Regions from separate parts of the Homo sapiens genome. Here region 2 is linked to region 1. The links are contacts of gene promoters, found by promoter capture Hi-C in blood cells and fetal thymus (Javierre and others, 2016). All regions are on one chromosome and are shown on one strand. Each heading gives the region's core, a stretch centred on a gene start or on the middle of the fragment in contact. The rest is flanking DNA. Distances are from core to core; before and after follow the strand shown. Region 1 holds the start of ELMO1-AS1 (ELMO1 antisense RNA 1). Region 2 overlaps ELMO1 (engulfment and cell motility 1).

The links. Contacts are between HindIII fragments. The CHiCAGO score rates a contact against its expected background, and 5 or more counts as called.
Region 2: a fragment that was not itself captured here is called in contact with the fragment with the promoter of ELMO1-AS1 in region 1 in 1 of 17 cell types (M1 macrophages); the score reaches 6.2 in M1 macrophages.

What each region holds. Positions count from the first base shown.
Region 1 is chr7:36,996,157-36,999,326 of GRCh38, reverse strand. ELMO1-AS1 (ELMO1 antisense RNA 1) reads right to left here and starts at 1,531. Exons shown (of 3, transcript NR_104120.1): 1 at 1,395-1,531. The region is part of intron 16 of ELMO1 (engulfment and cell motility 1); the gene reads left to right. The HindIII fragment of the contact is 6,356 bases long and covers 1-3,170 here.
Region 2 is chr7:37,197,837-37,200,938 of GRCh38, reverse strand. All of the region lies in intron 13 of ELMO1 (engulfment and cell motility 1), which reads left to right. Among named protein-coding and RNA genes, the nearest start is that of ELMO1-AS1, 200 kb to the right of the region's middle. RefSeq lists an enhancer at 1,861-1,920. The HindIII fragment of the contact is 4,970 bases long and covers 1-3,102 here.

The DNA of each region.
Region 1 (3,170 bases), core at 282-2,781:
AATGGCAAAATTTGTAGTTCTGTTCTGCTCATCTTAATCAATGAAAAGCATTTGGGGCCATTCCCATGAGGGAAATGACACGAAGATCACACAGCACACATGGCGCTCCAGATGAGGCATGGAGAGGCATGGATTCTAGTCCAGCTCTGCCTGTGACCTCCTGCGTGACCCGGGGCTTTTCTCCTATCCTGCACTCACCACCCTCCCTCCTAGACAATGCTGTGGCCCCGGGGATGGCCTCCTTCTGTGCTTTGAATTTCATCCCCTCTCACCTGCTCTGGGGCTCTGTCCGTTATCATTTCTAATCTTTGCATCATTAGTCTCTTCCTCTCACATGCTGTCTTCTCACCAGAATATAAACACACACAAATCTCCCACATTCTTAATAATAAATAAATGATTTTCTCAACCCCCTATTCACCTGTGCCCCTGCAGCTCGGTTTCTGAAGTCATTGCCTCAGTTTCCCAGCTCGCCTTTTCATGTATTAATCCACTGCAGCCTGCCTTCTGCCCACACCGAGAATATAACTGAGCAAAAGAAGAGAAATAGGACTCTAAAAAGCACTAAAATATAGTGTCAGTCCTTGAAAACCTCTTTAGCCACAAAAGTCACTGATTTTGACAAAGAATGGCCTCCGGTGGACAGTTTTAAATCTCAATCTTGTTTGCCACCTTTGTAGCCCTTGACCCTGTGAACCACTCTCTCCTTAAAAATTTTTTTTACTGTGACTTTGGAAATGAACATACATGCAAGATAGATATAGATATACAGATATAGATACAGACATATATATATTTATATATGTATACAATGCACCTAAGATATATGTACAAATGGCACATTGAATATACGTGGAAGAAATAAAATAACTATTATTGTTCCAGTTACTAGCAACATTTTTAGAAAAAAAATTAAAGGATAACTAAAAATATAACTGAGCTCAAGAGAAGAAATACGACTCCAAAGTGCATTAATATATATTTTGAATACTTGAAAACCTCTGTAGCCACAAAAGACATGATTTCTAAGAGGCAAGTGGGAATTGAGAGGAGTCGTTGAGTTGTTCTAAATTTAAGACTGGAAAGAAGTCACATTGTTCTGAATCCCTGCTCTGATGAAGAAGAGAGACATCAAAAAATTTATAAAAATACATCTTTTATCCCTTACACCTTCATGCTATTCGCATCCTCCCCCACCCCCATCTCTTCTCTTCAGCCTAAAAATATACCAAAATCATTCCTTTCCTTAAACAATATTTTCCAACCCTGTTCCTCTTTCAAGTTCTTATCCAATCTCTGTCCGTCTCTGCACTGCCAAATTTTCCGGGAGAGAATGACATCTCCACTTTCCCACCTCCTCACCTCGACGTGGTCTGATGTTCACCCACACCCACCTGCTGCAATTGCTTCATTTAGCTCAAGGTCATCTTCTGATTGTTCTTGTTCATCCTGTTCCCTGGCTCTGAGGCATTGACTTGTGTTGCCTCCTGTGCTTCCTGGGATCCTCTCCATTCCTCATTCCCATGGCACTGACCCCTTTAGCACAGGCATTCCCTGAGGCCCTCCTCTTTTCCTCTCCTACCACTGCCTCCTCCCCACCTTCAACCAGCACCTGAGGCAGACAGAATTCCACCCTCATCGTCTTCTGAGCTCCACCCCTGTGGATGGTCTGCAGACTCCTCAAACTCGGGATGTCCAAAGCTAAACTCTCCATTCTCATGGCTCCGTTCCTGCTGCTGCTTCTGTGGGCTCTAACTCCAGGAGTGACACCACAATCACCCCATATCTTGGACTTGAAATCCAGGAGAGATCTCTGGCTTCCCTACCTTTTCTCTCTAGTAGGTCCCCAAGTCCTACTGATTCACCACTCTATGAGAAGGGCCACCTGCCTTTTAATGCTGTGACTCCACTTTCCTGCACCATTATCTCAGCCCCAGTCTCTGTGCAGGAACACATGCCAGCATGAAAAATCAATTGGCTTTTGTCAGGCCATAAATACCACCAAAAGAAAATCTAAAGGTGTTGTTAAGACAGAAAAAAACAAAATCATTTTCCTTCTCTCCTGGAAATAGCTTAAATTTTTTTTCTGGTCTTAAAAGAAATCATTCCTCTCAAGAATCACTTTCTCCTGTCATAGCTTAGCCACCCTGTGCCTTTCACTTATGGACTCAGTTTGTTCTGTATCCTGCCTTCCCGCCACCATCATCTCTTGTGTAGACGATGTGTTTGTTTTTTAATTGGTCTTCCTAAATCTGGACTTGACCCAAGCCTAAGTTCTCTCTCCCCTAGCTGCCAGAAACACCTTTCTAGGACACAGCTCTTCTCATGAGACATCTGTCTTCAAAAACCTCTGGCTCTCTCTTCTTCCAGCAGGATAGAAAAACTCCACATTCTGTCCTAAACCACTCTTCCAAACAACATGTCTATTACGTCTAGCAGCACACCTCCTACTAACCTATCGTTAGTCATACTGAGTGCCCAGCATGCCTTGCACTTCCCAGTATCTGTCCCTGATTGTGTTCCCTCAGCAAGGAGGAACCTTCACTCTTTCCGGTGAAAAATCTGCCTGTCCTTCAAGGCCCAACTCATGGGCCCTGCAAAGTCCCTCCATGGGGACAGGAGGAATTTTCCCTCTTATGTTCACTTTTCTTCCCCTCTCTTGTAGCACTTAACTTACTCAGCTATATGCTAAGTTCGGAAACTTATTTTAGCCAATTATCTTTGATTTAAATGGGTTCCCATTCATTCTCTGTCCCACCTCATGGCTACCTTGAGGCAATGCTGCAGAATTCCAAAGGCTTGAAAATCATATCTACTCTCTCTGTTTCTTGACTCTACCCCTAAGAACCAGGACTGATTCTCACTCACCTTTCTACCCCAGAGTGCCTACCAAAAAGAAAGAAATATATATGAGCTTAACAAATGTTACTTAAATTGAATTTTTATCCTATTGTTGAAAAAAATAGCTAATAATGTTTATTTTTAAATCAGCTGATAAGGTCTTAAAAGGAAAAAGCACACTCTAGGACAAACTTTGCAATCTACAGAACAAACAGTCTTATGGACTCAGTTTGGCATTGAAGGGCATTGTGTGGCTATGACAGGAAAAAGAGTGATTCTTCTAGTGGCGATTTCTTTTAAGACCAAGATGAAAAAAATTAAGCTATTTC
Region 2 (3,102 bases), core at 584-3,083, 200 kb before region 1:
CAGAGTCTCACTTTGTCACCCAGGCTGGAGTGCAGTGGTGCGATCTCGGCTCAACTGCCTCCTGGGCTCCAGCTATCCTACCACCTCAGGACCACAGGCGCTCACCACCAGGCCCAGCTATTTTTTTGTATTTGTGGTAGAGACAGCATTTCACCATGTTGCCCAGGCTGGTCTCAAACTCTTGAGCTCAAGCGACCCACCCGCCTTGGCCTCCCAAGGTGCTTGGATTACAGGTGTGAGCCATGGCGCCTGGCCATAAAGGGGAATTTTAAAAGGGAAGAGAAGCGAAAGTGGGTGGCCTATGAAGCTGCTGATGGGTCAAGCAAAAACTGTCAGGGAGTTTGGTTGCACACTTCACTGATTGGCAGGTGGGCATCCTTTTCAGGTGGCCCATTCGTCACAGGTGAAGAGAGGATTGCCAGCACCCTGCCTGTACATGTTCAGGGTTGCCTCTGTGCTGTCTTTCTTGGATGCTTTTGGTCAAATGACAGAGAGAATGGCATGCACTGTCTTCATGTTTAATTTTATATGCAGAGTTGTCTTAAAGTTGTAGCTGCTAGTTGGGCACAGTGGCTCTCTCCTATAATTTCAGCAGTTTGGGAGGCAGAGGAGAGAGGATCACTTGAGGCCAGGAGTTCAAGACTAGCCTGGGCAATAAAGTCACACTCTTGTCTCTACAAAAAAAAAAAAAAAATTAATTAGCTTGGCCTGGTGGCATGCGTCTGTAGTCCCAGCTGCTTGGGAGGCTGAGGCAGGAGGATCTCTTGAGCCCAGAAGGTCAAGGCTGCAGCAAGCTATGATTACATCACTGAATTCCAGCCTGGGCAACAGAGCGAAACCCTATCTGTCTGTGGGGGGATAAAAAACAAGTTGTAGCTGCACATGTAGGAAAGAAAAGGTTAGCTTTGGAAAGCTCTCTTGAAAAACTGAAGAAGATCAGGTTTATTTCCTGTCATTGAACCAAGTGAACCAAGCACATTAAGTCATGGGGCAGGGCCTCTGCACAGTGGGCTCTTCTCAGATAACTCAAGGTCTCGTGGGGCCATTTCCACTTCAGTGTAGCATCATCATACTTCCTAGGGGTGCAGAGAGATCAAGAACTCCCACTTAGAATACTTGCAGATCTTTCTTCTGTGATCCACCTTTGCTGTCAGCTGCATTGAGAAAGGACATCCAAACTGGTGCAGTGGGGCCCCTAAGGACAGTCCTAACACAAGCTCTCTGTCACTGTCTCAGGTGAAGAGTTGGCCCATGTTTTGCTCTTGCTGCAAGGCATGTGCTGTTGCCACCATTTCCATCTGTTTGGTGACTTTCGTATGGGATATGTTACTCCCTTCTTCCTACTCCGGCATGGGGAGGGAGCAAGGAGGAGTACTTATTGCTGGGAGTAATCTAATTTCAGAAGCACCCATGACCTGTGGACTCCTTCTGAAAAGGGGATGCATGAATAATTGTACTTTTAAAACTTTGTTTTGTTTTGAGACAGGGTCTTGTTCTTTTGCCCAGGCTGGAGTGCAGTGGCATCATCATGGCTCACTGCAACCTCCACCTCCCACCTCAGCCTCCCAAAATGCTGGGATTACAGATGTGGGCCACCATGTTCAGCCCGTTTTCATATTTTTAGAGGAACTATTTTAAGGGAAAAATTTTAAAAACAAATGACCTATGATTCATTACCATGATAATACTTGACCTTCGTTCTTCTTACTTTTTACGGTAATTAACTTTAACTCCAGACACAATTTCTCAGGAATGGTTATTGAACACCAGGTGAAGAGACAGGTTTCTTCCAGTCCTGTTTTTCCAAACTCCTTTCCTATTTAGCACGCATTGTGGTGCCTTAGGAGGGACATTTGTGGGCAGTTAGGGTTGAATCTGTTCTCTGGTCCACTAGGGGGCGCGCCTATCAAAGGCATGTGTGTGAGAAACTCTGCAGGCTGATGGCACTTCAATAAAGAGCAGCTCTGATGTGTTCATGAAGTGGAGGACTTAGTGGGGACTCTTCTAAGTGGGTAAGTTTAGCAGGTTCAGAAAAATGCTTTTCCAGCCAGAATCTTCCTCCTTCCCCCTTTTAGCTCAAAATCTCCAATAACTCTGTCCCCTGGCTGTGGCGGAAGGAGAGGCAACATATTAAACAGTGTCAATCCTTCGTCCCTGAGTGTATTGTGCAAACTTCCTTGGCATCCTTTCTTTGCACATGGCGCTTTGGAGCAAAAGGGCACCATCCAGCAGGTGCAAGGGTGACACATAGGGAACCAAGGGCAAAGAAACGTCAGGGTCTCGTAATGTATAAGCAAGTCAATTGTGTTTGAGGCTAATAAAACATAGCTTTTACGAGTGCAGCCTTTGGTGCCAGACTGCCTGGTTTTGCATCCCAGCTTCATTGCTCATTAGCTGTGTGATCTTGAACAATTTACCTAAGTGTTTCTTGCCTCATTAGTGAGTTGGATATAGTCGTATCTCCCACCCAGGCTTGTTATGGACATTAATGAGTTAATTGATGTTAAGTTCTGAGAAGCCTTGGCATGGAGCCAGTTTTAGTAAGTTTTTACAATTGATGATTGTCATTTGGATCTGATGGTGGAAATGAGTCTGCAGAATGCATTTACAGTAACCCAGATGACTGGGGACATTCTTCATTTGACTATAACCAGCTGGGTCTGAGAGTAGAAATACATGGCTTCAAAAACAGTTAATTGTCAGGAGTGGCATATCCCAAAGTCCATGAATTCTAGAGAATTTCGTAAGAGTGCTTAGCAGTGCAGGACTTTTATACCCCTCAAAGAGCCTCTTTAGTGAAGGAAGCGGTGGATTTTTTGCTCTGTATTTTTGCTACTCAGGAATTAGCATGTAGGCACATGGCCGAGGATGTCCTTATGCTGCCTGCTCTTGTGCAGATTTTCAAAAGCAGATAAGACTCAAAACCACAACATATATTAAATCAATATTACTGTCCATGACAGGAAGCATTTTTCAATTGGATGACTCCATCCACGATACCCTTTGGAGAGTGCCTTGGACCTAGGCTGGACAGTGCTAGGACAGAGGACCACCAGAGTCTGGCAGGGCTGAGTGGTGATGGGGTCCTGGTACCTGGGAAAG